Regions from separate parts of the Homo sapiens genome. Here all the other regions are linked to region 2. Evidence: promoter capture Hi-C in 16 types of primary human blood cells and fetal thymus (Javierre and others, 2016). All regions are on one chromosome and are shown on one strand. Each heading gives the region's core, a stretch centred on a gene start or on the middle of the fragment in contact. The rest is flanking DNA. Distances are from core to core; before and after follow the strand shown.

Evidence for each region. The method cuts DNA at HindIII sites, captures the fragments that hold promoters and counts their contacts. A CHiCAGO score of 5 or more calls a contact.
Region 1: a fragment that was not itself captured here is called in contact with the fragment with the promoter of B3GNT5 in region 2 in 6 of 17 cell types (erythroblasts, M2 macrophages, megakaryocytes and 3 more); the score reaches 9.7 in erythroblasts.
Region 3: a fragment that was not itself captured here is called in contact with the fragment with the promoter of B3GNT5 in region 2 in 2 of 17 cell types (M2 macrophages and activated CD4 T cells); the score reaches 6.0 in M2 macrophages.
Region 4: a fragment that was not itself captured here is called in contact with the fragment with the promoter of B3GNT5 in region 2 in 1 of 17 cell types (M2 macrophages); the score reaches 5.2 in M2 macrophages.
Region 5: a contact is called between a fragment that was not itself captured here and the fragment with the promoter of B3GNT5 in region 2, in 1 of 17 cell types (M2 macrophages). The highest score is 5.1, in M2 macrophages.

Annotation. Positions count from the first base shown.
Region 1 is chr3:183,354,294-183,356,993 of GRCh38, forward strand. The region is part of intron 3 of MCF2L2 (MCF.2 cell line derived transforming sequence-like 2); the gene reads right to left. Among named protein-coding and RNA genes, the nearest start is that of MCF2L2, 73 kb to the right of the region's middle. The HindIII fragment of the contact is 4,685 bases long and covers 1-2,700 here.
Region 2 is chr3:183,251,940-183,254,639 of GRCh38, forward strand. B3GNT5 (UDP-GlcNAc:betaGal beta-1,3-N-acetylglucosaminyltransferase 5) reads left to right here and starts at 1,314. Exons shown (of 2, transcript NM_032047.5): 1 at 1,314-1,533. All of the region lies in intron 15 of MCF2L2 (MCF.2 cell line derived transforming sequence-like 2), which reads right to left. It overlaps LOC124906310 (a long non-coding RNA gene), which reads left to right. Exons shown (of 3, transcript XR_007096189.1): 3 at 596-616. The HindIII fragment of the contact is 12,746 bases long and covers 792-2,700 here.
Region 3 is chr3:183,153,521-183,156,220 of GRCh38, forward strand. LAMP3 (lysosomal associated membrane protein 3) reads right to left here. Exons shown (of 6, transcript NM_014398.4): 2 at 162-871. Among named protein-coding and RNA genes, the nearest start is that of LAMP3, 7.9 kb to the right of the region's middle. The HindIII fragment of the contact is 4,200 bases long and covers 1-2,700 here.
Region 4 is chr3:183,322,036-183,324,735 of GRCh38, forward strand. It overlaps MCF2L2 (MCF.2 cell line derived transforming sequence-like 2), which reads right to left. Exons shown (of 30, transcript NM_015078.4): 6 at 1,200-1,316. Among named protein-coding and RNA genes, the nearest start is that of B3GNT5, 70 kb to the left of the region's middle. The HindIII fragment of the contact is 4,944 bases long and covers 1-2,700 here.
Region 5 is chr3:183,172,466-183,175,165 of GRCh38, forward strand. It overlaps the pseudogene SNORD3P4. Among named protein-coding and RNA genes, the nearest start is that of LAMP3, 11 kb to the left of the region's middle. The HindIII fragment of the contact is 3,498 bases long and covers 1-2,700 here.

The DNA of each region.
Region 1 (2,700 bases), core at 24-2,523, 100 kb after region 2:
CTGTCTCTTGTGGGGAAAATCTACATTCTGCAGAGAATCCCCTTCCCTTTCCAGGTCTTTTCCTGATCCAGGAGAGAGATTTAACTGAGAGTCTGGCACCTTTTACGGTCTGATAAGGGACATTTACCATCTATTCTCTCTAAAGCCTGCTACATACCAAGAACCTTGGCTTCCACAACCTGCACCCTCCCACCCCACCCCACTTATCTTAACCCCCAGCATTTCTTTCTGCTGACTTCTACTCTTTAGATAATAACTTAACCATTTCAACCAATTACCAATCAGAAAATGTTTGAATCCACCTATGATCTGTAAGTCTCTCACCCAGTGGTTCAAGTTTTCAAGTTGTCTCACCTTTCTGGACCAAACCAATGTACATCTTACATGTATTGATTGTTGTTTGCCTGTAACTCCTGTCTCCCTAAAATGTATAAAATCAAGCTATTACCCAATGACCTTGGGCACATGTTCTTAGGACCTCCTGAGGCTGTGTCATGGCGTCGTGGTCCTTACATTTGGCTCAGAATAAAGTTCTTCAAATATTTTACAGAGTTTGGCCCTTTTGAGTCAACATAGGTATGTTACTGATCAATAACGTAGTCCCTATAAGCATGCAAAGGGAATAAATCCATCATGAATGCATGAATAAATACAGAAATAAATGTAAGAATTAAAGCATGTTTCCAGGTCTTTGTACTGTGTGAAGTGATATAAAATAATTGTTTAAAGCACTGGCATAAAATGCTTCTATTTATTTTAATAATATTATTTATTATTCATTATATTATTTATTATTTATTTTATTTTATTTTCATAAGTCTAATGGATCCCATCCCCTCCACACACTCCACCACAACTTTCTTTACATGATATTGATTTCTAGAATTTACATGAAATGTTTGAAAATGAAAAAAACTAGGGGATTGTGAGGAGGAAGCAAGAGACAGGTAATGTCACTAGAAAAGGATCAGATCTTGTTGCTTGTGGATATGAATGAATTCCTCTTTCTAAGGATACTGACCTTAGAAAATGGAGGGGAAAATGCTTGAAGGCCTCTTAGAGGCAACTCCAACACAGTCTTACTCTTTCAGTAGAGGGGGGCAGAAAGCAGGAATAGCAAAATAATTACTTAGCTACCATAATCAACAATTCCTTTCCTTTTTTTTTTTTTTGAGACGGAGTCTCGCTCTGTCGCATAGGTGGAGTGCCGTGGCGCGATCTCGGCTCACTGCAAGCTCCGCCTCCCGGGTTCACACCATTCTCCTGCCTCAGCCTCCCGAGTAGCTGGGACTACAGGCGCCCGCCACCACGCCCAGCTAATTTTTTTTTTTTTTTTTTTTTTTTTGGTATTTTTAGTAGAGACAGGGTTTCACCGTGTTAGCCAGGATGGTCTTGATCTCCTGACCTCGTGATCCGCCTGCCTCGGCCTCCCAAAGTGCTGGGATTACAGGCGTGAGCCACCGCACCCGGCCATCAACAATGCTTTTCAAGTCCACACCAGTCACCTGAGGGTCCTGTTAAACATAGCAATTTCAAGTCATGAAGCTAGGGGTGATGCCCCAGATTCTGCATTTCTGACAGGCTTCCAGGTGATGTTCATTCTGGGGCCTCACTTGGAGTGACTAGGGCAGTGGGCCCCTCCTTCCCCCCTCCCCTCCCCTTGTGAATAAAGAGCAGCTGGCTGTAGCATTTGCCCCATCTGCAGCCTTGCAAACCTCTTCCTTCACAAAGTAGATTTGCCAGGACAGTGCCTAGGCTATAGGAGTTGAAGCTAAGGAGGAGGAAGAGCAGTGCCTGAAGAAACTTCAGACCATATGCAAGAAAGACTCAAAAGAAGAATACAAAGAGCAGGTCTTTCTAGAAATAAAATTGACTTAAAAAAAAAAAAAAAACTCTGCCTCTAGAGCAAAGTACTCTTTATTATAAAAAAAAAAAGTATTGCCGGGCATTGTAGCTCACACCTGTAATCCCAGCACTTTGGGAGGCCAAGGCAGGCTGATCACGAGGTCAAGAGATTGAGACCATCCTGGCCAACACGGTGAAACCCTGTCTCTACTAAAAATATAAAAATTAGTTGGGCGTGGTGGCATGCACCTGTAGTCCCAGCTACTCAGGAGGTTGAAGCAGGAGAATTGTTTGAACCCGGGAGGCAGAGGTTGCAGTGAGTCGAGATTGCGCCACTGCACTCCAGCCTGGCAACAGAGCAAGACTCCGTCTCAAAATAAATAAATAAATAAAATAAAAGTATTGCCTACTCCCTAATCAAGCATCCCTAAAGGAAAATCTATTTATAGGACCCACTCACTGTTGCAGAGTCTACTGACCTCAATTTCCTCCCATTCAAGTGCAAGTACCTTGGTTAAACAGAGCTACCCAATTGCAAAGGAAATCCAAGTCAGATAATTATATTTACAACATAACCCTTCAAAAATATAAAAAGGCAACCAAAGATCTTCTGAATTGAATAAAAGCAAAGCATCAAAGAGAAAGACTGAGGTGAACAAACAGAACAGCCAATCTAGAAACAATGAAAACAACTACAAAAAAGTTTATATTTTTTCTAGTCAGTAATCTCAGACTGTTGAAAGAATACTCCATCCATAAAACAAGAATACACTCTTATGAAAAGGGAGCAATGGGAGAATAAGAAATAGTTCTCAGAAATTAAACATATGATGCTAGAACCTAAAAATGTATAGA
Region 2 (2,700 bases), core at 64-2,563:
ATCGTATTTCCAATCTCCAGACATACTTTTGAAACCATTTATCTATCTGGTGTGTTTATCTGTATCTAGTATGATGTGAATATGTGATTTGTATGTGTGTCTACCACTGTTTTGGTCAGTTTGTATTTCTCGTGGGTACAGTTCTATGTGCTCATGTATGTGGAACATATGTATACTGACACATGGACCTAGCTCCAAATGATCTGAAAGGAATATAATTGTAATTGAATATTTGCACAGATATACAACATACACATGTGATGGCTGGGGGAAATGCATGTGGGATTTCAGTCAGCATTTTATTAGAGAAGGTATGTCATTAGTGCTGTATTAACAATGAATCAGCTTATTTGTGGGTCACTGTCAATGACTCCTTTGCAAATCACACATGTAAATATTTCTGTCTGTGGTCTGATGAACATGCAGTGCCACAGTCTGGGAGATGCTGAGCCATGCCCTGTGTAGGCAGCATATGAAAAGAACTGCATGATTTAAAAGATGCTGACCAGCTTAAGGAAAGCAATTTAAAAACTTCCTAAAAATCTAGTTTGAATGAACAACAGTTTTCATTTTGTGTGTGTGTTTTTTCTTTTAGAGATGGGGTCTTGCTATGTTGGCCACGCTGGTCTCTAACTCCTGGGATCAAGCAATCCTCCTGCGGCTCAGCCTCCCAAAGTGATGGGATTACAGGTGTGAGCCACCGTGTCTGCTGGCCCCACTGTTTTAAACCCTGATTCGACAATCATACATTTAACTCATTACCTGTCTTGTTCCTTTTACGACAAACTCAAAGCTTTTATTTTACTAAAGTATTTGGGTTAATCTTTTGCTTTTCTGTCATGTTCTGAAATATGTACAATAACAGAATCGCTCAAAATATTATCTCCGTTAAATGTTTTGTGGCTTTAGGGAGAGGTCTAACAACATGCGGGAAACAAGAAATCAAGCGCATCCAGGATTCATTTATAATCTCTCTCGTTGAGTAGAAGTCCGCATCTCTCGATATTGTCTGGTTACCTGCATGAAGTATTCTAAAGGAGGAAAATAGCTCAAAGAGGACATTCATGTGCACTCTGGCTTCCAGTTGGCCATTTGAGTAAGTGATCGCAATTAACTGACGAGCGGCAGGGAAACACTTCCTGGAATTCTCATCTACAGACAAGAACAAACTGGGGCGGGGCCCATCACCTTCACCTACGCGCCGGGAGGGTGGCGGCTGGCGGGCGGGGCCGGGCTCGGGCCGTGACGCCGAGAGTGCGGGGCGCGCGGCTGGGAGCCTCGCGCCCCCGCCCGGGCCCGCCCCCATCCCGCCCGCATACAGCCCGCATCCCGCCGGGGAAGCGAGCCCAGTCCAGCGCTGCCCGTCCAGTCCTCGCCCAAGATTTAAAGCCCGCAAGTTTTGTTCTTGAGACCAGCGACTTTAGCTCCGATGCGGGAAGGAAAGCCGACCTCCGATTTGGACATTTAAAGAGCTGGGCTTGAACTTCGTGAGTTTCGCTCTAAACTGCCCTTGAAATGAAGCTGGACTTGGAGGTAAAGTCACTGGGAAGCTGGCCTGGGGCGGGGTTTCCCCCTCTTCTCGTATTTTAGAAACGGACAGCGGCAGTGCAGCCCTAGTTTGCTGTAAGTTTCCTTACTTTGTTACTGAGGCCCCCAGAGCTCCACGCATAAGTGGTGTGACCAGAAACCTTTTAACAAGACCCGCCTGAGCCTGCGTTAGAGCTCCCGCTCGGAAAGTAAAAGACCATCCTAATCCGCGGCGCTGCGGAACCGGTGTCCCGTGTGGGAGGAACCGCGGCGTTCCCTGGGCGTAGGGCCCGCGAGGCCAGCACAGTCCGCCTCTTGGCGGAGCGCCCTGGGCCGGTGGTTCCGCGCGGAGTTAGTCTGTGGTCAGTTACGTGGTGAAAACACGGCTGTGCCGCGGCCGCATCTTTCCGCGGCCGAGGCCTCTCTGGGTGGGAGTGTTGGCTTCCTTTCCGGATCGCTAAATGGGGAAAGTTCTGGCCGCTCGGCGGGATACGTCTCCAGGCCACGGATGGTTCGTTCTCCGTGCCGCGGCCCCGAGCTGGGCTCCCTGGGTCTCCAGCGCGGGCTCCCGGCATTGGGGGCTGCGGGCCGGCCCCTCCGCCCCGCCCCCGCCCCGCCGCGCCTCCTCGGCCGAGCGGCTCGCGGTCTCCGGCGCGGGAGGCTCCGAGTCTGCCCACTCCGGGCCGAGCGAGGTCTCTGGAGGAGAAGAGTGGCGAGGAGGTGAGGGCACGCCGGCCCTCGCCCGGCGGGTGGCGCCAGGACTTCAGGTGGGAACGCGCGCTTGGGCCGGGGGCGCGTGGCTGGCGTGGACACCGGATCGGGGCCCGCCGCCCTGGCCCGGACCGCGCACGGCCCAGCGCCGGGAAGTCGGGAAGCCGGGGAGGCCTCTCCCACCGCGGGCCCCGGCAGCCCGCCCTCTGAAAGCGCGGCGGAGAAGGAGGCTCGTCCCCTCCCCGGAACGCCTTTGTTCCCTCCGGCCTGCCCGCGCGGGTGGCCAGCGGCTGGGACCCAGGCCGGGCCGCCGCCCAGGTGCGGCAGGTAGGCTCGGGGGCCGGGCAGCTCCGGTTGGGGCGGCTTCCCGGGGCCTGCGGGTCCCCGTCCCTGAGGAGCTCCGGCTCCTCGGTGGCGGGACAGGCCCGTGCGCGGGAGCCGCGAGGCGAACGCCGCGCCCAC
Region 3 (2,700 bases), core at 1-2,500, 98 kb before region 2:
AAAACATAATCACCTTTTAATGGAGCACCTTGGAGAGAGATGAGCTCACAGCTATTGGTTTCATTTAAAGACACAGGATGTGGGGAATGCTCATTCCTAGCAAGGCAACCTCCACTCAGACTTTTTGAAGATAGTGTTATAGTCCTGTGGCCCCAACTTACCGACTCCTTGTCTTGAACAATCAGCTGTATCCCCATCTCTGCTTTTATACAGAGTCTGCTTCCGTTTAGAACCTGATAAATTCCAGTCTTGACTGACGATGGCTGAGGTGCAAGGGTGGGCCCAGGAACCGTGGAGGCAGGTGCAGCTGTGCGGGTGGTATTGTGGGCAGCTGCCGTTGTTCCTGGGGCATGGGTGGGTTGAACAGGCTTCTGACCGGTTGTGCTTTTGTGCAGTGCTATCGATAAAGTTGCTGGAAGGGTGGTCTGGTTACTGGGTTGAGTGGTGTTCCCAGTTGTGTGGCTGACGGTTGATGAACTGGTTCCAGTTGTATGAGCTGGTGGGGTGATGGTGGGTGGCAGTGAATAAGGGGCTAAGCTAGGGCCGACTGTAACTTCAGTAACTGGAGGAGCTGTGTGTGAGTTGTTGGGTGTGGCCTGGGTTGTGACCAGGGTGTAGGTAATTGGGCTGGTGGTTGCAGTGTTTTTTGTAGTCGCTGGGGTAGTTGTTGGAATTTTTACTGTGGCCGCTGTTTGAAAGGTGATATGACCATCCATGAATCTTGCTGCTAAAGTTTGGTGAGGTGCTTGCTTAGCTGGTTGCTGGACAGGTTTTTTTATGTCCTGTACTGTTGCTGCTGCAGTAGGTTGAGAATAATCTCTGGTTTCTGGAAATGCTTTTGCTCTCATTTGACTGCCATCGTGCAAAATTACTGAAAATTAGGAAATAAAAGTGTTAAAAACACTAACCGATTGCTTACAAGGTTCCCTCTCCCATCCCCATCTTAATGTCTGTTCATAAAAAAACCTAACATGCATATTTTTATACTTGGGGGAAATTTGCAAGGGTACAACAATGAAGCAAACATCACCAAAGATTCTACCCCCAGGACACAATTGTAATGTTCTGGTTGTATCCATGCCTTTTACAGGGTTATGACAGTTCCACAGCACCCAGCCCCTTTGCCTGTGTGAGGTGTGGTACTAATACACGCCAAAGTGATCATGCTCAGCTAGATATCTAAGTGTCAATGCCTCTTCATTCTCCACCTTCAAATGTGGATCCGGACAGCTGACATAAAATAGTGTTCCTGGGTGAACAGCTGCTGTATGACCTGATAGAGCTGGGGCAGCATGAATGATGGTAATAAAGATTTACAGAGTTACACAGTTTTCACAGAATCATATAATCCCAGGTTTGAAAGGGGTCTTAAAAGTCATCTAGTCCAAACTCCAATCTTTTTTTTCTTTTTTGAGACAGAGTCTTGCTCTGTTGCTCAGGCTGGAGTACAGTGGCACAATCTCGGCTCACTGCAACCTCTGCCTCCTGGGTTCAAGCGATTCTCCAGCCTCAGCCTCGTGAGTAGCTGGGATTAAAGGCACCTGCCACCACGCCCGGCTAATTTTTGTATTTTTAGTAGAGATGGGGTTTCACCATGTTGTCCAGGCTGGTCTCAAACTCATCTTGTGATCCGCCTGCCTCAGCCTTTCAAAGTGCTGGGATTATAGGCGTGAGCCACCGTGCCCCACCCCAAACCCTAATCTGATGTTTGAATTACACCTACAGATCTTTGCCATGCGTTCATCCAATCTAGACTTAACTGTTCCCAATGACAGGAGACTCATCTCTTCACAATACAGTCCTTTCCATTTTTTATCTTGTCACTTGTTGTTTTCTCAATACAGACCAATTCCTGTCATTTTCGTACTTAACTTTTGGAGTGGCCCAGTCTTTCTCAACCAAGAAAGAGAAGTCATAACTGCTCTGATATTTCAGGTGGGTTGTCCTTTGTGTTCTGGCTTTCATGGCAGCTCCTCAGAGCATCTTCCTTGTCCTCCTTATATAAAATAGTTCCCCATATCCATGATTCTCCACTGCAGTGTTAAATTCATTGCTTTCACTGCATTAATTACAACTTGTAAGTATATATGGGGATGGTATTCAAATATTTAACAATCAGCCTGGCCAGTATGTACCAGCCAAATATTTTCCCTGATTAAATGTTTGCTTATTGGTTTATTTGTTGGTTGTGGAACTTTCCTAGTAGATTAAGAGCACCGTGAAGGTGGAAACTGTGTGTACCATTTTTACCGTCAGTGCCTGCACATAGACAGTGTTCAGTAAATATGGGTCGAACGAAAAAATGACAGAATGTGTTAATGAGGACAACAGCATTGTAGGCCTTTTAGGATTATTGTAAGGCTCACATGAGTTGGTTTAAGTAAAACTCTTCATGGACCATTAAGCACACAGACGGTGTCTACTGTTGTCACAGGTTCTCTCCAGAGGCTGTCCTTAAGGGCAGAGGTCCTCCGTTCTTTTCCAACTAGAACAGGTCTATCCTTGCCTCCTTCCAGGCACATAGGGATCCAGAAAAGTGGACAAAACACAGATGTTGGGCCGGGCGCGGTGGCTCACGCCTGTAATCCCAACACTTTGGGAGGCCAACGTGGGCAGATCACCTGAGGTCAGGAGTTCAAGACCAGCCTGGCTAACATGGTGAAATCCCACCTCTACTAAAAATAGAAAAATTAGCTGGGC
Region 4 (2,700 bases), core at 47-2,546, 70 kb after region 2:
TAACTCCATTTATGATGCCAGAGCCTTCATGACTTAATACATCCCAAAAGCCCCCTCCTCTTAATGCTATCACATTAGGTTCCAACATGTGAATTTTGAGGGGACGCCAACATTCAAGCCATGACTATGAGTTTTGATCTTTTTCCTCAATATTACTGAAACTCCTAACTTAGCATAACAATCACCAGTATCAGTAGGTAGGAAAAAGTAAAATACTATATATCAGGTGCTTTCACAGACAATACATCACTTATTCCCCACATCAAACTTTCAGGAGGCTTTCGTTAGTCCGGGGTTTCTCAGCATTGGCTATTCACACTTTGGGCCAGAGGATTCTTTGTTGTGGGAGGCTGTCTTGAGCATTGTAAGGTGTTCAGCGGAGTCCCTGACGACCCACCAGATACCAGTTAACTTTCCCCACTAAGTTATGACTACAAAAAAGTCTAAAGATATTGACAAATGTAGGAGGCAGGCAAAATTATCCCCTATAGAGAAATACTGTGTTAGTCCCATTTTAACAGATGAAGAAACAAGCTCAGAAATGCTTAGAAACTCACCCAACATCAGACAACATGTTATTGTGACAATTTTTTAAAATTAATTTCAACTTTGATTTTAGATTCGGGGGTACATGTGCAGGTTTGTTACATGGGTATATTGCATGATGCCAAGGTTTGGGGTACAGTTGATCCTGTCACCCAGGTAGTGAGTATCGTACCCAATAGTTCTACAATCCTTGTCCCCCTCCCACCTTCTCACCTATAGTAGTCCCCGGGGGGTGACACTATTTAAATGTAGCTTCTTCTGACTTCATGGGTGTCAATATGTATGTACGTTAGAATCATCTGGGGAGTTCTGTGGTGTGTTAATGTCTAAGACCCATCCCACATGAAGTAAATTAGTTTCTCTGAGGTATAACAGGCTATTGGTGTTTCTGGAAACTTCCCAGGTGCATTCGAAGGTAAGTGTCCCAAAACCCCCACACCGGGAGATGCAGTGGGGTAAGGTGGTCAACAGGAGAAATCCCAGCCTTCGCCCTTCCACACTCCTTCTTCCCCACCCTGTGGCTGAGAAATCCCAACCACCCCAAGGTCAGGCAGTCACAGGGTGACCTCCTGGCAGTTGATCTTTAACTCCCCCACCCCATCTTCCAGAAAACAAGGAGAGACAGTGAAAAGCACACGTAAGCTGGTACTCACAGTGCGGTGATTTACCCACTGACCGTGGCGATATTCCAAAGTCCCCCCTAATTCCCGGGTCAGTTGGCTTTTGTCGATGTAGCCGTGAAGGTCAGAGACAGAGTTTACCATGATGATCTGTAAGGTAAAAATTTAATTAAACATACTCCTCATTGATCATTAAATAATAGCTCATTTACATTCTATTCTTATCATAATTATATTTTATATTCTATTATTATTTAAATGATACTCCAACTTTGCTTTATCAGGCATTTATATTTAAAAATGGTTACAGCCAAGCACAGTCGCTCATGCCGGTAATCTCAGCACTTTGGAAGGCTGAGGTGGGAGAATCATTTGAGGCCTGGAGTTTGAGACCAGCCAGAGCAACATAGCAAGACCCCATCACTAGAAAAAAAATAAAAAAAAAAATTAGCCAGGCATGGTGGCATGCACCTGTGGCCCCAGCTACTTGGGTGGCTAAGTCAAGAGGACTGCTTGGGCCTGGAGGTTAAGGCTGCAGCAAACAGTGATCGCACCATGGCACTCCAGCCTGGGCGACAGAACAAGACCACATCAAAAAAAAAAAAAAAAGTTACTATATCCAGCAGGGAAATATTTTAAAGTCTCTTCCATTTTTTGCTTTTGAGTGAGAAATACCAAAGCGTGGTATAGCCTGTGACAAAATGTTGACTTGGCTCAGGGAACACAGTTCCAGGCTACCTAGAAGTCAGGCCTTGCTTTACGTGAATTTTCAGTCATAAGTTCCCAAGCTAAGGTACACCTTTCAGCCACCAAAATCAAGTGTTGTGCAATGGCCTGAAAGTCTACCATGAGAAGCCCAATCAAAGCTGGTCGGGTAAATGTGAAAATAAAACTAGAATACAGGGAAACACAAAGAGTATGCATTGAAAAGACTCACTACACTGGTGCGCCCCGATGAAGAATATTGATGTGTCCCTACTTTAGCTTGCACTGAGGGGATCTGGAGGTGACAGGGCATTGGGTTTTATAAGCTAGCAGTTCCGCTGATGAGCGAACACTCACACATCCAGAGGAAGCTGACGCATCCCCAATTGCCCCTTTCTATTCCTTGGCAGTAGTTCTGGCCTGGGTGTGGTTCTGGCTCACTCAGTGACTATATCACACCCTCTACTCACTCCTGAGTGGGACAAGGACTCCTCACTCCTATCTCTGAAACACATCTTTGAAGCCTTTAACTATGACATTATATTTTTTCACTCCCTGTTGATTATTTTGAAAATTAACTCTTGGTCAGAGGACATAAGAATATGGACTTCCTTCTATTATTGTAAAGTATTAGTCAAGGAATGAATCCACTTTGGAATGAGAATATAAATTAGAGACCAGCCAGGTACGGTGGTTTGCACCTGTAATCCCAGCTACTCAGGAGGCTGAGGCAGGAGGACTCCGTGGGCCCAGGAATTTGAGGCTCCAATGAGCTGTGATCGCATCACTGCACTCCAGACTGGGTGATAGAGGGAGACCCCATCTCTTA
Region 5 (2,700 bases), core at 136-2,635, 79 kb before region 2:
GACCAAGCCTCTCTGTCCCTCCCCGCAGCAGTAGTTTTGGGCTCAGCACATATTCCTGCCCCTTCCCCAGAATCAGAGGGTTTTTTGTTGTTGTTGTTTTGTTTTTCAAGTTTTTGTTCCTTTTTCTCCATCTGTGTTGGATTTACCAGCCCCCTAGGAGCGTCAGTATTTGTTACCCTTCCTCCAGGCTTTTAAGGCCTTTGTAGGAGAGATGGGCCAATAGCATCTGAGCATGGTTTTGTGTCTTTCTTGTAGCAACTGATATTCCTCACCCCCAGGTCTATGCCAGGAAGGATGCTTCCTTACATGCCTGTAATCCCAGCTACCGGGGAGGCTGAAGCAGAAGAATCACTTGAACCCAGGAGGCAGAGGTTGCAGTGAGCCAAGATCATGCCACTGCACTCCAGCCTGGCAACAGAGCGAGACTTCATTCAAAAAAAAAAAAAGCTCTTACACTCTTCTGCATATTCTGCAAAGTATACTCTGGGAAGGCTGGTTTAGAGGATCTCTAACTTTTCTAATATTTCATAATGCATGGCTGATGTTTAACATGAACTCAGACTCCCATCAGATTTTACAGATCTGGGTCTGCTTTTAGTTCTAATGCTTCAGCCAGGGCACTTTAATCTGAGGTCACAGCATTCCCAATTGTCAGCAGTATTTTGAAATCTAAGTTCCTCTGGTGGACAACAGGCAACATCATATAGCCACGGAGGATCTGAACAACTTCTAAGTCTGAGGGATTTTATCTGGTGGTTTTGGATTCTTTTCCATTTATACTTAAACAAGGTGACACAAATGTCACTCACAGAAAAGCCACTCTTTTTTCCCCTGTTTTTAAGAAGTCTAAAAATGCACAACTATTTCCTGAATGAGCAGTGTGTCCAGGTGTAGAATAGGGAATGTCGTGTCCACTGGGAACAGACGGTGTACCTGGCACAATTTTATGAGAATTATCCCATGATTCCTGTCCCACCCTGCAGCCCACCATGGGCTCAGTGGGGAGTCTGAGTCTCTGAGCCCCAAAGGGTAGCTTTTTCCCAGACGACACCAGCAAGCAGAGCAGCAGCTTGGGGCTTTGACAAGGAGGCTGGAGTGAAAGGTCATATTGGACCATCCTGGATCACTGGAGGACAATACCCCAGGAACCTCCAGCAATGACTGGTATTGGAATGACTCCCCTGGTCACCCACCTGTGGCAAGACATTTGCAAACAGGGTCTTCCTATGAGGCTTGTGAGGTTTGGCCAATTTGCATTCTGCTAGAATTATTAAGTATGGACATCCTCATAGATCCAGAAAAGGGCCGAGATCCAAAGGATTGAGAATGCTTTGGGGGGTGTTTCCATAGTGAGTGGCTGGCTATTCAACAGTCAAATGTTTGAGAGGATACAAGTGATGTGTTTCCTGAGGCAAGTGGTCAGAACCCAACAGACTCTTCTGTTCAGCTAAGATGAGAGACCATCTGAAGTTCTTACATGTTCTCACAGAGAAATGGATTCTCATAGGGAAATGGATATATTGTGATAGACACTGTAAGCAGAGAAGTTGACTGAGAAACACACACACACACACACACACACACACACACGTCAAGACTGAATGCATAGATGTGTATTATAAAAAGTGTAAAAATACACCACCATTGTAACAGATTGTGTAGGACTATATTTTCTTTTTTTTTAATTTATTATTATTATACTTTAAGTTTTAGGGTACATGTGCACAATGTGCAGGTTAGTTACATATGTATACATGTGCCATGCTGGTGTGCTGCACCCATTAACTCGTCATTTAGCATTAGGTATATCTCCTAATGCTATCCCTCCCCCCTTCCCCCACCCCACAACAGTCCCCAGAATGGGATGTTCCCCTTCCTGTGTCCATGTGTTCTCATTGTTCAATTCCCACCTATGAGTGAGAATATGTGGTGTTTTGTTTTTTGTCCTTGCAATAGTTTACTGAGAATGATGATTTCCAATTTCATCCATGTCCCTACAAAGGACATGAACTCACCATTTTTTATGGCTGCATAGTATTCCATGGTGTATATGTGCCACATTTTCTTAATCCAGTCTATCATTGTTGGACATTTGGGTTGGTTCCAAGTCTTTGCTATTGTGAATAGTGCCACAATAAACATACGTGTGCATGTGTCTTTATAGCAGCATGATTTATAGTCCTTTGGGTATATACCCAGTAATGGGATGGCTGGGTCAAATGGTATTTCTAGTTCTAGATCCCTGAGGAATCGCCACACTGACTTCCACAATGGTTGAACTAGTTTACAGTCCCACCAACAGTGTAAAAGTGTTCCTATTTCTCCACATCCTCTCCAGCACCTGTTGTTTCCTGACTTTTTAATGATTGCCATTCTAACTGGTGTGAGATGGTATCTCACTGTGGTTTTGATTTGCATTTCTCTGATGGCCAGTGATGATGAGCATTTTTTCATGTGTTTTTTGGCTGCATCAGTGCTCTACACGTTCAGAGAAACTTCTCTAGTGACGAACTATAGAAATGATCCCTGAAAGTATAGTCTTAGGACTATATTTTCTTTTGACTTGGGAGGCATGTTTATTGCTGTTAATGCTGCAAAGGGCTCTACGTGCTTTAAAAAATCCCAATCTGTTGCATTCATAAGCCTGGGTTGGATCTAAAGCAGCCTCCCACTTTTGGAAAGGCATCCCCACGACCTTTC